4 separate regions of the Homo sapiens genome follow, and all the other regions are linked to region 1. Evidence: promoter capture Hi-C in 16 types of primary human blood cells and fetal thymus (Javierre and others, 2016). All regions are on one chromosome and are shown on one strand. The core of a region is centred on a gene start or on the middle of the fragment in contact, and the rest is flanking DNA. Distances in the headings are between cores, read along the strand shown. Region 1 holds the start of CNIH4 (cornichon family member 4). Region 2 overlaps MIA3 (MIA SH3 domain ER export factor 3). Region 3 overlaps MIA3 (MIA SH3 domain ER export factor 3). Region 4 holds the start of LBR (lamin B receptor).

Region 1 (3,063 bases), core at 220-2,719:
CGTGTTGAGCCAGAAAGTATTGAGCCTATACAAAGACTTCAGTGAGGGATTCCCTAAAACGAGTGATACCAAGCCACTTACTGCAAGTAATGGATAGTTACATGAATGTAAGAATAGATTTGGACTGAAAAATATAAAAATCACTGGAGAGGCTGCATCTGTCTCTTCATCTTATCACATAGGCATTTTATCATCATACATCATCTCAAAAAGAAGGGTCAGTACAATAAGATATTTTGAGACAGAAAGACCACATTTACATAACTTTTATTACAGTATAATTGTTCTATCTTATTATTACTTGTTAATCTCCTACTGTGCCTGATCTATAAATTAAGCTTTATCATAGGTATGTATATATAGGAAAAAACATAGTACACATAAGGTTTGGTACTATCCATCGTGTCAGGCATCCACTTGGGGGTCTTGGAAAGTAGCCCCTGCAAATACAACTGTATTTGTTAAATGAATGAATGGATGAGTAAGACATCGTATTCACTTCTTAAAGATCTTAAAATCTAGAGAGGAGAGAAACATTGCTGTAGGAGAGGATAAACAAAGGACTGTGAAATCTCTGGAGAAATTGAAATCAGGAAGGGAAGGGCAAATCGCAAAAGTCAAGCCAGGAGCATTAAGTTAGATTTGTGCTTTGAGATGAAAACCCCTTACAAATCCTAAGTCAGGGAATGCAATGGTTCTAGAGCCAACTCTAAAGAAAATTTCACACATGGGAAATACATCCTACTGGATATCCGGATTAAAAGCGTTCAGTAGAGACTGGTGCAGTGGCTCAGGCCTGTAATTCCAGCACTGTGGGAGACTGAGGCAGGCAGATCGCTTGAGCCGAGGAATTCGAGACCAGCCTGGGCAACATGGCAAAAACCCCATCTCTATTAAAAATACAAAAAATTAGCCAGGCGTGGTGGTACATTCCTGTAATCCCAGGTACTCAGGAGGCGGAGGTGGGAGGATCACCTGAGGCCAGGAGGTAGAGGCTGCAGTGAGCTGTGACCATGCCACTGCACTCCAGCCTGGGCGACAGAGTGAGACCCTGTCTCAAAAAATAAAATAAAATGAGAAATAATAAAATAAAATTAGCTGGGCATGTCGGGAGGCTGAGGTGGAAGGATTGCTTGAGCCCAGGAATTCGAGGTCATAGTGAGCTCTATCACGCCACTGCACTCCAGCCTGGACGACAGAGCAAGACCCCAGCTCTTTAAAAGAAAAGCGTTGAGTAAATACTTGTTGATTAATTCCATTTCTGGAAATAATCGGATTTATGAAAGAGGCCCTGCCCACCTCTTTGATATGGACTTGTACTAATGAACTACAATTCCCAGCATGCGTCAGAATTAGGGCCGTAGAGTTTTTTAAAATATGGACTACAACTCCCGGCATGCCACACCAGGATTCGAGGACCACACGCCTCAGCCAGCCCCGGCAAGGGCCTATCAGGGGTGGGTCGGGGCATCCGAGCGGGTTTGACGGAAGGAGCGGCGGCGACGGAGGAGGAGGATGGAGGCGGTGGTGTTCGTCTTCTCTCTCCTCGATTGTTGCGCGCTCATCTTCCTCTCGGTCTACTTCGTATCCTTGCCTGAGGCAGGCGAACGCCTTGCCGGGGGACACGGCTGAGGGTGGGCCAGTTGGGCACCCGGGCAGGTGTGTGGGACTAGGGAGGCGCCCGGCGGCGGGCGTGGGCTCCCTGGGAGCTGGCCTGGCCGGGGCGGTGGCGCGGGCCCCGGAGCGGGTAGGAGAGGCTGGCTGCCCTACCCGACGGGCCCTGCTGCCCTGCACGCACTTGCCCTGCCTGGGTTGCCGGCCGCCCCTCACTCGGGTCCGAGTGGGCCTCTCCGGGCGCGCCCCGTCTCGGCCTGCCCGCCTGCTCTCCGCTCGTCCCCGCGGCGCCCGGACCAGCCCTGCCTGAGCCACGGCCGCCCTCGGGAGAGAAGCGTCGCTGTTTTTCTGGGAGAGGCCCTGCGCCGTGCTCTTCGTCGGATATTGGGGGTCCCAAGGGCGGTCGCTTGCGACAGTCGGGTGCCGGGATAAGTGCGGGCCATTTGCCTCCTCCTGTTCCCCACGCAACACCCCCGGCACCCGCCCCTTTGTTCTGGCGGGTGTTAGTACTTGCAGGGACCTTTCACATCCAGGAGTTGACTCATTCGCCAAAGGAGCGAAGTTGCTTCCTTCACTGTGCCGTTTTGTAGTGAGTGTTGGAAAGGAGTTGTTTTAACAACTGTCTACAAAGTGATTATTTTGGTTGTCCCCGGTGGTTGCAGATCTGTAAATTCAATAACTACATCTGCTGTAGTTCCCAATCGTTTCTCAGCTTTTAAATTTTTCTATCGATCCATGTTAAAACTTAAGTTGCAGTATTCAAACTGTTTTCCAGAGCAATAAATGGTGGTTGAATTTAGCACTGCAGTAGCCATGTCGGCTACAACTCTTCCCATCTCTTGACAAAGCATCTAGGCTTAGTTGTTGCCCAATGTTGTATTGCACCATCCAGGTTTAAGTAATTAAATATAAGAAAAAACGTATGAGGAACTCCGCATTTCAGCTTCCTTTCTTGGAAATCACATGTACCTGTTTCTGATCGGATTAAACCATTTGTTTGCTAGAGCATGCGGGCTTTAGGATAGTCGTACAGAGTATATGTTCAGTGCAGCTTCATTTTTCATTGTGGACTGGCATCCTGTTGTAGTGGAAAGGGACAAAATTTGGAATCAGATTTCCTGGTCAGCTAGCTCTTTGCTTGCACATTATTTCCCTAAGCCTCAGTTTTCTGATCTTTAAAATAGGAAATGTTTATTTCCTAGATATGCACAATGAGAATGGTGCTGAGCACCCTAGCACAGTGCCTGCCCCATAGCTAATGTTCAGTAAATATTGCTCTGCCTTCGTGTCCCCACCCTCCCCAATTGAGCAGCAGTTTTTACTTTGATGATATCTAACGACAAGATTTCTGAGTTTTAGTAGGTTTGGGGAGCTGATTGAAAGGGCAGCATCACTTGCCTAAGTTTTGATGACCTCTATGCCCCTCTTGTGATATAAGGAACTAGAGCA
Region 2 (3,063 bases), core at 1-2,500, 1.7 Mb before region 1:
TTTTCCCAGTGGCAGGTTGATGGTGGGGTTTGTTTGGAAAGGCTCCCTGGCGCTGCTCCTTTGCCCTTCTGCTTTATTGGGATTTGGGCTTGTACCGCCTTTTGAACAGGAATTGGGAGTTTAGGTTTGGGACGAGTCTGGAGTCCAAGCACTCATTGTATTCCGAGGTCTCTGCCCCGACTTTGATCAATCCTGTCGTTTCTGTGCTTGGAAGCCGCCTTGCAGACTGCTAGGCAGGACTGCAGGAAGACCAAAATCTTTCGCTCTGCAGAGACCGAGGATCTGCACCGGCCACCTGGGACCGGCAGCCTCCTCTTCTGTGCGCAGGAAGCGGAATTGCTCTCCAGTCTGGGATTGGAGGTGGGCGGTGGAGAGGGCACAGATCTTCAGGCTCAGATGAAGAAGGTTATTACAGGAATGACAGTAAATACTCCAAGGGTCTCATAAGCCAAGCTTGGTTTAGCCTTAGCCGCTTGCGTGTTGAAACCTCTTCCCTCTATGTTCGCCGGACCAGGATCATTTTAGGGCCTCCCAGACCGTCTCAACCTTGTAACTTACTGATAGCCACTGCAGAAACGGTTTTTCATACACTGTTAAGCAATGCCTATAGAAACGTATTCATTTTAAGAAGGCCAAGAACTCTATGGTTTAGCTATTTATATTCAAATTGATGTTATCAAAACCGAATTTCATAATATGAACTGTTTGTATCTCTACAACACTAATCAAGAAAAGAGATCTCTAATGAGTGTGAAGCCATTCCTAGAGATAACCCTGTGGTTGATGTAAATAAACACTACAAAAGCGGTACAACTGCCATGATTTTTCCCTTTAGTTTTCTTGGGTCAAAGCCACGCTGTTACCCATTTGCCGTTGGCAATGGCAAGATAGTTGGTATTCTTTGCTTGCAAGCATTGCCCTGCCTGGGTTCCTCAAAACAGGTTACCTGGAGAATCATCACATCACTGATGCTTCTTCAGTACTGAGGCATGATGTTAGAAGAGCTCACGGTTGTAACATAACTTGAGAAATGGTACGTGTTCAGAGGAAACCAAATACAATAGGCATCAACAGGAGCAAGGTCTAGATGGGTCTGTGTTGTGTTGTAGAAAGTGTTTAGTAATGTGAGTATGTACGGTGCCCTTGTGTGGTTTTCAAATAGCTGTTCCACAGGGTGCATTTTGTTGGCATCTCAAATATTATTATAAATCCTCTATGATCTATTGTAAGGGGGAGCAAAAGAAACATTGCCATTTTCAATTCTGATCTTATTCCCAACCTTAAATTGTCCATCATCTTAAACCTGGCCTCACACTCAATTATATCTGAGCTACAAAGCTGACATGTTGGAAAGTAATCAGAGTTTAGCTTCAAAAAACAAGTAGCCCCTTCCAAATCTATATGCGTGTATAGCCATTTAAAGGCACGTTTTTAATGTATTTTATTGCAAATTGGCTTTTGGAAAAAATCTTATTTCTATTCGTCCTTCTTTGTCTCTGCTATTTAGATGTATTTATTGTCCATTTCATCTTACATGGGAAACTGTGTATGTGGTCAACAAAAATAAAAGTACTGCTTCAGCCAGTTTCTAGATCAAGCGTGATTGAATTACTGACCTATTCTCATAGTTTTGCTTAGTCCCAGCCAAATGAGATGTCGACTTTTGATTTTGTTTATAGAAAAATATACATAAGGGTATTCTTTCCTTTGTTTTGAAACTTAATTTTGGATACAGTCAACATTATTTACTTTCAGAAAATATTGCCTTGTGATGTAATTGAATCTATAGTAGGGTGTGATAGATATCTTTTCCCATTAATTTATCCAGACACTGTACTAAGGGAACAACTTGGCTGCAAATGAAATTGACAGTGTTTACTGCTACATAGTACTGGTTACAGTCACTTGAAGATAGACCCTTTTAGTGGTTAGTTCAAGTTAATTGACCTCTTGGGGGTTCCTGGGTACTCTAGTTCCCTATTACCCGTTCATGTAGCCATGCTTAAGTTAATCATCATCTGGGCTTGAATTTACCCATTTGCAAAAGGAAGCTTTTTATGAATATGAAACAGAAAAGATTGAGGACTAGAAGGTTAGAGAGGGAATCGAGAGTTTCACTTGGGTGAGAAAAGCCATGTGTGGTAGTTGGCACATTGCTTTTTGTTTCTCAGTATTATCCATAGAGAAAAATAGAGAAGGTTTTCCTTTCCCTTGTCTGCTTGCAGAAGGTATGATTTATAGCAGTAAAGCTCAAAGGATTTGAGATACTTTGAGCATATGAAAGAAATTCCAGAGAGTACTGGAAAAACTTGGTTGTTGTTTATAGTGGGATTCTTATATTTCCTGATAAATCAATATGCACTGTGAACACTGAATCCTGATATCTGGCTATTTTTTTTCTCTCTCTTTATATACAGTGTTAATGTACCGCGGTGAGGCTCTTGAAGATTTCACAGGCCCGGATTGTCGTTTTGTGAATTTTAAAAAAGGTGATCCTGTATATGTTTACTATAAACTGGCAAGAGGATGGCCTGAAGTTTGGGCTGGAAGTGTAAGTAAAATATCGACATACTTTATTTGCTTAATTTTTATTGGCTTCTTTAGCACTGTAGAGTTAAATGACTGCATTTTCTTGGGACCTTTGATGGAGTTAACTTGTCCTCTCTGCCTGACTGTGAAAAAAGATGGCCCTGTGTCCCCAGCAGGCCTTGGGTCTGCACAGAGTAGGGGCTCAGCAGAGCCTTCTGAAATAGAACTGATTCTGGCAAGTTCCCCTCAGGGTCAACCTCTAGGATGCTGCATACGTATTAGAGGTTGAAATGGTAAGAGCTGAAAAATACTTCATTGCTTTAAAAAGGAAGTATTCATAGGAATTAGACTTACTCCTGTAAACTATATGTGAGAGAGTGTTTCAGGCATGTAAGCTTAAAGTTGATTTTATGTGTATTTCTTTGTTTATATTATTATTTATGAAAAAGTGGCAGTCTTGGGAACAGTTCCCTAATCATCTGTGCTATTATAAGTCTGTAAAAAAGCAAAATGTTGTTTCTCGTGTGCTTTCTT
Region 3 (3,063 bases), core at 378-2,877, 1.7 Mb before region 1:
GTGACAGCACTTTATGTTCTGGTGTGAAGTCATGATCAAAACACAGAGAACCTACAGGTCTTTTCTGCATAACCCCCGGCTCTGTTGTGGGATGGGACCAGTGTGATAGTGTACTTGTAAAGGGCTGTGGAAACAGCATAGAGCAGACAGGTGTTTAATGCACTGTTTTCAAGGAAACATTTAGAATTAAGGCACTAAATTCAAAGCGGTTTATCTAGATCAGTTATCAGGAGCTATCCGAACTTAGTCAGCATTTGTTCTTTGTTTATGTAAGTCGATTTAAGATTTTAAATCTTAGAGGAATAAAACGTTATTTGTGATATTCATTATCATCATATTGGTTTTATTTGCAGCCATAAAAAGTTAGTTACTTGTATATAAAAGGTTTTTTGTCTTATGTGGTTTTTTAAGCAATAAAAACCAATTTATTCAAGACAAAAGTATGATGCAGAGAGATTCCAGCCATGTTTTAGATAACATATTGTATCAGGGCCTATTGAAACTAGAAATATATGCCCAACCTAAAGACATTTAGAGTCATAGTACTTCAAAACACCACAGGCCAAACAATAAGTATGAGACTCCCAGTATCCTGTTTTTCTTAAAGCAGTGAGAGCTACTGAAGATTTTTGAGGGGATAGGTATCTGATAGAGTTGGTTTAGAATTTCTGTGAATGAGTCTTTGTGACTGCTTTATGGTAAGCTTCTTTAAGGTTTCTCATTATTTCTAACATTATTTCTAACATTCAGCTAGTTGCTACATTGCCTGATGATGTTCAGCCTGGGCCTGATTTTTATGGACTGCCATGGAAACCTGTATTTATCACTGCCTTCTTGGGAATTGCTTCGTTTGCCATTTTCTTATGGAGAACTGTCCTTGTTGTGAGTAAATTAATGCATACTTTAACTCATAAATTCAAGTATGGTTTTATAATCACAGTCCTTTTGTTTCTTTTTCAGTTTCTAATATGAACAGAAATTAATGCTTTTAATTCAAGCTAACCTTGTAAAATAATTTAGTATAATTTTTGTGTTGGTAAATTCTTAAGTGAATAAGACAACATGTATAATCTCAGTGGGAAAACTTCAGTTTATATGTCTCATATCAAAGTCTAAATTTTAAGAATTAGGTGGGTCTGTATTTCAACTCACAAAGGATGAAAAGAAAGAATTAGATAGGTCATATGTACACTGTTAGTAGAACTAGGAATTCTTAGAGCCATCCTGAAAAATAGTTTCATGATGTGTATGATAAGCCTTAAAAATGGTTATATCCTTTTATATTGTATTAATGTCATGTCTAGTAATCGATCCTAAAGAAATAACCAGTCAGCCGGCACAGTGGCTCACACCTGTAATCCCAGCACTTTGAGAGTCCGAGGCAGGCGGATCACTTGAGGCCAGGAGTTCGAGACCAGCTTAGCCAACATGATGAAACCCCATCTCTTCTAAAAATACGAAAATTAGCCAGGTGTTGTGGCACATGCCTGTAATCCCAGCTACTCGGGATGCTGAGGCAGAGAATCGCTTGAACCTGGGAGGCGGAGGCTGCAGTGAGCTGAGATGTGCCACTGCACTCCAGCCTGGGTGACAGAGTGAGACTCCATCTCAAAAAAAAAAAAAAAGAAAGAAAGAAATAACCAATCATGCATTAAATATCTTACATGGCCGGGCGTGGTGGCTCACACCTGTAATACCAGCACTTTGGGAGGCGGAGGCGGGTGGATCACATAAGGCCAGGAGTTTGAGACCAGCCTGACCAACAAGACAAAACCCCATCTCTACTAAAAATACAAAACTTAGCCGGGGGTGGTGGCAGGAGCCTGTAATCCCAGCTACTTGGGAGGCTGAGGCAGGAGAATCGCTTGAACTGGGGAAGCAGATCATGCCACTGCACTCCAGCCTAGGCGACAAAGTGAGACTCTGTCTCAAAAAAAAGTTTTAAATATCTTACATGAGAGCATTCAGTAGAACAGTATTTATTAGAGTGAAAACTTTGACACAACCTACTGTGATTCACAGTGGGAAAATTGTTAAATTATTGTATGTTCATATAATGGGATATTAGGCTGCTTTATATAATTCAAAGACATAGGAGCACAACAAATACTCACAATTTAACATGAAGTAGAAAAAAAGTAGAAACCAAGACTTTAAGGTATAGATAAACTGTATATTACATAAACATACACACAGAAAATAAATGCTGCAAGGAAATACAATAAAATGATAAAAATTCTTATATCTAGGAGATGAGGTAAGTTTTCAGTTTTTAAAAAATGTGTATTTTCCAGATTTTCTGATTTCATCATGTACTATTTTACTCAGAAAATATCTTTTTATTTCGAAATGCAAATTATATCATGTGTAAAGACACACCGTTAATTTTTTTATCTTCTGTGCAGAATTTGCCTTTCAGACTTAAACATGTTTGTATAAGTGTGTATACTCATACTTGTACATCCTTATGATTATACTATATAGCATTCAGCTGCATAGTTATTTAACATAATTGGGAGAAGATTATTTGTGTAAATGAGCTTTGCAGATGAAAAGCTTTGTATTGAAACTTCACAGTTAAAATGGCCAAAATTATTGGATGCAAATCTTTCTAAAACTGAGTACTCTTTTTCTGATTTCATAATTATATCACATATATCATCATTAATAAATTTTCTCTCACAATTGATTGTAAAATTACTTAAAAAGAAGGGTCTTTTTTCCTGTGAGGCCTTCTCTAACCTCCTGGTGCTTTTCTTCAGATAAAAAGGGAGAATCAAAGGGTAAATGGAAGGGGAAAAGTTGAAAACATTTTACATTTCCCACTCTTGTTTCTCCTATTTGTTAATAAAAAAATTCTAACGCCTTTTTCGTTTTTCAGAAAGTTATATAGGCTCTGTGTCCTAACTGCTGTTCCTCAGCCTCAGCACTTGACTTTTGGAACCTTGGTCTCTGCTTGCCTGTTAGTTTGGGTGAAATGGAGCAGAGGAATTAGCAAGGCCATGACATTAGAGAGATAGTAATTTCTTTCCATGTTGGAATTTTCTGAATGCATATTCCTAT
Region 4 (3,063 bases), core at 143-2,642, 1.1 Mb after region 1:
AAGATTTGCTTGAAAAACAAACAAAATGAACCGGCATTCTTCTTAGAAGACCATTATCTTATACACAAATGTTCCAAAAGATGAAGCCAACAACATGATGTGCACCCCCACTTTACACAAGATCCACACACAATTGTCAAACGTGAGGATACAGTGCAATCACATCCTAATATATTCCCCCACAGGAGTGAAATAGCCAGGATGGCACACAAAAGCCCCACATTTGTTCGTGTCACTCACTATGCACTCACCTACAGGAGTCAAGATACACACAGGATTTTCTTACAAGAGATGTTTTAGGCAAGTGTGTTTGTAAAGAAAAATTTTGTTCACTGCACCCAATGTCCTCATTCGCCATAAACAGGAAAAACACGGAGACCCTCAGGTTTTTCTCTATTAAGCCAGATGCCCGCTAACTTCAGAGTCAACTGGCACTGCAATCCTCACACATTCCAGCTCCGGTATGTTACTGTTTGTGAACACAACAATTCTCTGCTCATTAACATTACAGGGGTCTCCAGCCATCTTTCCTTCACTTCTCCAAATTCATCTAAACGTGGCATAGAGCAAGACGCTCGAATGACGTTGGACAGCTTCCTTTTCACACCTGAGCCCCGGTAGCCCCACTAGGCAAAATGCAAACAGGAACCCCGGGCCTTGCTCCGCGCCCTTTGCTTCATGAAGCAACAGAAAGGCCACCTTCCTGGCTGTAAAGGCAGAAGCGCCTTCTTCCCCATAAACATCCTTGGGCAGCTCATCATTCCCCTCCTGCTCGTTCTTCTCCCTCTTCCCAGGCAGCCTGAGAAACAAAACTTAAACTGGACTTGTTGCCTAATCTAAATTAGGATCCCTCTGCTCTTCTCCGTAGCTCCATCTTCTCCCACACACCAGTTACTACAATGCGTAACTACAGATCTACACGTGTTTACGTGCAAGGTCCCCGGGGGCCTGTTCACCCTGGCACTGCCCAGGCGCCGCGCCTCGCGCTGCAGGTGTCCACGCGCGGACCACGGTATCTACCGCGCCCTCGTGTGAACACCCGACCGGGCCCCGTAATCACTCTGGGAAAGCGCCTTCAACAAAGCCCTCCGAAAGCAAGTGCTTTACTAAGTGCCCCTTGAGGCTACTGGCAGTGCGAGGCTGGCTGTCATTAGAACATTTTTCTGAACCCTCAAAAAGGTGAAAAAGCAGGACCGTGCTTTAGCAGGAACACGCACACCCGCCTAAATACCCGATTTTTGAGACTGTCCGGGCGAAGGAATTCAACGCATAGGAGCGAGCAGCCATGCAGTGTGCCTGGAGAATCACCAAACCGCGACGACCACGACCCTCAAAGCCAGTGACAAGCAGCGCGAATCTAAGCCCACCTCGGCCGCAGACCCTTCCCCGTCCCGCCAGGCCGCCGCGCCCTGTCAGCCTCCTACTGCAGGACCGCGGGGCCGCCTGCTCATCTGTCAGACGGGCGCTCGGAGGGGCCGGGAGCCAGGCTGCGGTGGGGCAGGACAAAGGCGCCCACGAACCCTCCCTGCCGCCGCCGCTCCACAGCCGCGCCGCGCCGCCAACATGGAGGGAAACGTCCGCAGTTTAAAACCCCCAGCTCCATTTCCGCAGCGGGCCCGGCTCGGGCGAGCTCCAGCCTCGCCCGCCGCCGCCCCGACCACCCGACTGGGCCAGAAAAGGCGAGGAGGGGAGGAGACGAGGAGGCGAGGAGAGGAGGGGAAGGCCGCCGCGCCAGGCCCCGCGCCCAGGGTCCCCGGCCCGGCCGCTGCGCCGGCCTCGGGCTTCCTCCCCCAGCGGCCCCTCGAAGAACGCGCCGCGGGGAGCTGGGAGCAGGGCGGGGGTGGAAGCACTCACCTGCGCCAGGTTCCGGCGGTGACACGGACGGCTCCCGGAGAATAGTCGCACAGCAACCCGGCGGCAGATCCACGCGCGCGACGCTACCCGGCCGCGCTCTCGCGCCCCGCAGTCCCGCAAGCCGGGCGCGCGCCTCCCCGGCCCCGCCTCGCGGCGCTTCTCCCCTCCCCTCGCCTCCCCTCCCCACCGGCGAGGCCGCCCGGGGCTCCCATTGGCTCCTCGACCTTTTGAATCATCCCCGGCGCTGTCGATTGGTCGCGCGCCGTGGCGCGTCCGCCCCGCCCCACCCTGCCTGGGGGCGGGGAGGCCGGTGAGCGGGGGAAACCGAGTCTGGCGGGGCGGCCCGGAGCGCGACGTTTGCCACCGCCTTATCTCAGCCGCCCAGGCGCCCTCGCAGCACACGGAGCCCGCGCGCTCCCGCCCTTTCCCTCCCAGCGCTCGCAGCAGTGTTTGGGGTGCCAGGTGGCTTGGCGAACGAGATTTTTTTTTAAGCTACAAAGAAAACTAATACATTCTTGAAGTGATCACCAAAGATCCGAGCTCGAAAGCGTTTCTCGGTAAAACACTATGAGTGCCCTCCTTAGCGTGTTAAAATCCCACAGAAGCCCCTGGACCAAGCAGCGGCATCGAAGGCGAGCAGGGGCGCTTTTGTGTCCGCGGCCGCTGAACCTGCGTAGAAGCGAACCCGGACCGATGCTGGGACCGGCGGCGGGAGGGAGGGGGAAGAATGGCCGAGGGCTCCTACGACTTACGCTGCGAGGAGGGGCTCGGTTGTTACCCGAGATGCTGTCGAGATGCAGTAGAAAATCCCCAACACCGCGGAGCGTGGAACAAGAAGTTTTATGCGTTACACACCGAAACACAACTTGACCTGCAACCTACAAGCCTGGTTTTAATTGAACCCCAAAATGCTGAGTCATGTCATTGTTGACTCCGAATCTGTTACGGATCCTAAGCTTTTTTTTTTCTGCTAGTTTTCATTATCGGTTAGTTGATTTCCTTCCTTTGAGGTCGAGAGTTTAAAGCAGTCCATTGAAGTTCCCTATTTTGCAGTGTGGTTTTAATCAAAGTATTTCTTAACACCCTAACTAGGTATATTTAAGTGAATTGCTATTTTGGAAGCATTATTAAATTGTAATAATGAATAGAACTTTTCATCTATAGCCTAGCTTCAGCTTTCATTTTCTCATAGAACTACAAAACACCCAG

What was found. The method cuts DNA at HindIII sites, captures the fragments that hold promoters and counts their contacts. A CHiCAGO score of 5 or more calls a contact.
Region 2: a contact is called between a fragment that was not itself captured here and the fragment with the promoter of CNIH4 in region 1, in 4 of 17 cell types (total CD8 T cells, activated CD4 T cells, naive CD8 T cells and 1 more). The highest score is 7.2, in total CD8 T cells.
Region 3: a contact is called between a fragment that was not itself captured here and the fragment with the promoter of CNIH4 in region 1, in 5 of 17 cell types (non-activated CD4 T cells, total CD4 T cells, monocytes and 2 more). The highest score is 7.0, in non-activated CD4 T cells.
Region 4: a fragment that was not itself captured here is called in contact with the fragment with the promoter of CNIH4 in region 1 in 2 of 17 cell types (erythroblasts and monocytes); the score reaches 8.2 in erythroblasts.

The regions. Positions count from the first base shown.
Region 1 is chr1:224,355,410-224,358,472 of GRCh38, forward strand. It overlaps CNIH4 (cornichon family member 4), which reads left to right and starts at 1,470. Exons shown (of 5, transcript NM_014184.4): 1 at 1,470-1,584. The coding sequence starts at 1,516. RefSeq lists enhancers at 1,123-1,262, 1,820-2,320 and a silencer at 1,543-1,912. The HindIII fragment of the contact is 2,727 bases long and covers 337-3,063 here.
Region 2 is chr1:222,618,742-222,621,804 of GRCh38, forward strand. It overlaps MIA3 (MIA SH3 domain ER export factor 3), which reads left to right. Exons shown (of 28, transcript NM_198551.4): 2 at 2,418-2,551. Among named protein-coding and RNA genes, the nearest start is that of MIA3, 2.2 kb to the left of the region's middle. RefSeq lists enhancers at 1-56, 337-396. The HindIII fragment of the contact is 1,598 bases long and covers 452-2,049 here.
Region 3 is chr1:222,644,804-222,647,866 of GRCh38, forward strand. MIA3 (MIA SH3 domain ER export factor 3) reads left to right here. Exons shown (of 28, transcript NM_198551.4): 7 at 751-882. Among named protein-coding and RNA genes, the nearest start is that of MIA3, 28 kb to the left of the region's middle. RefSeq lists an enhancer at 1-253. The HindIII fragment of the contact is 1,853 bases long and covers 702-2,554 here.
Region 4 is chr1:225,426,100-225,429,162 of GRCh38, forward strand. LBR (lamin B receptor) reads right to left here and starts at 1,939. Exons shown (of 14, transcript NM_002296.4): 1 at 1,855-1,939. RefSeq lists enhancers at 349-1,021, 1,022-1,693 and a silencer at 1,526-2,355. The HindIII fragment of the contact is 2,832 bases long and covers 1-2,808 here.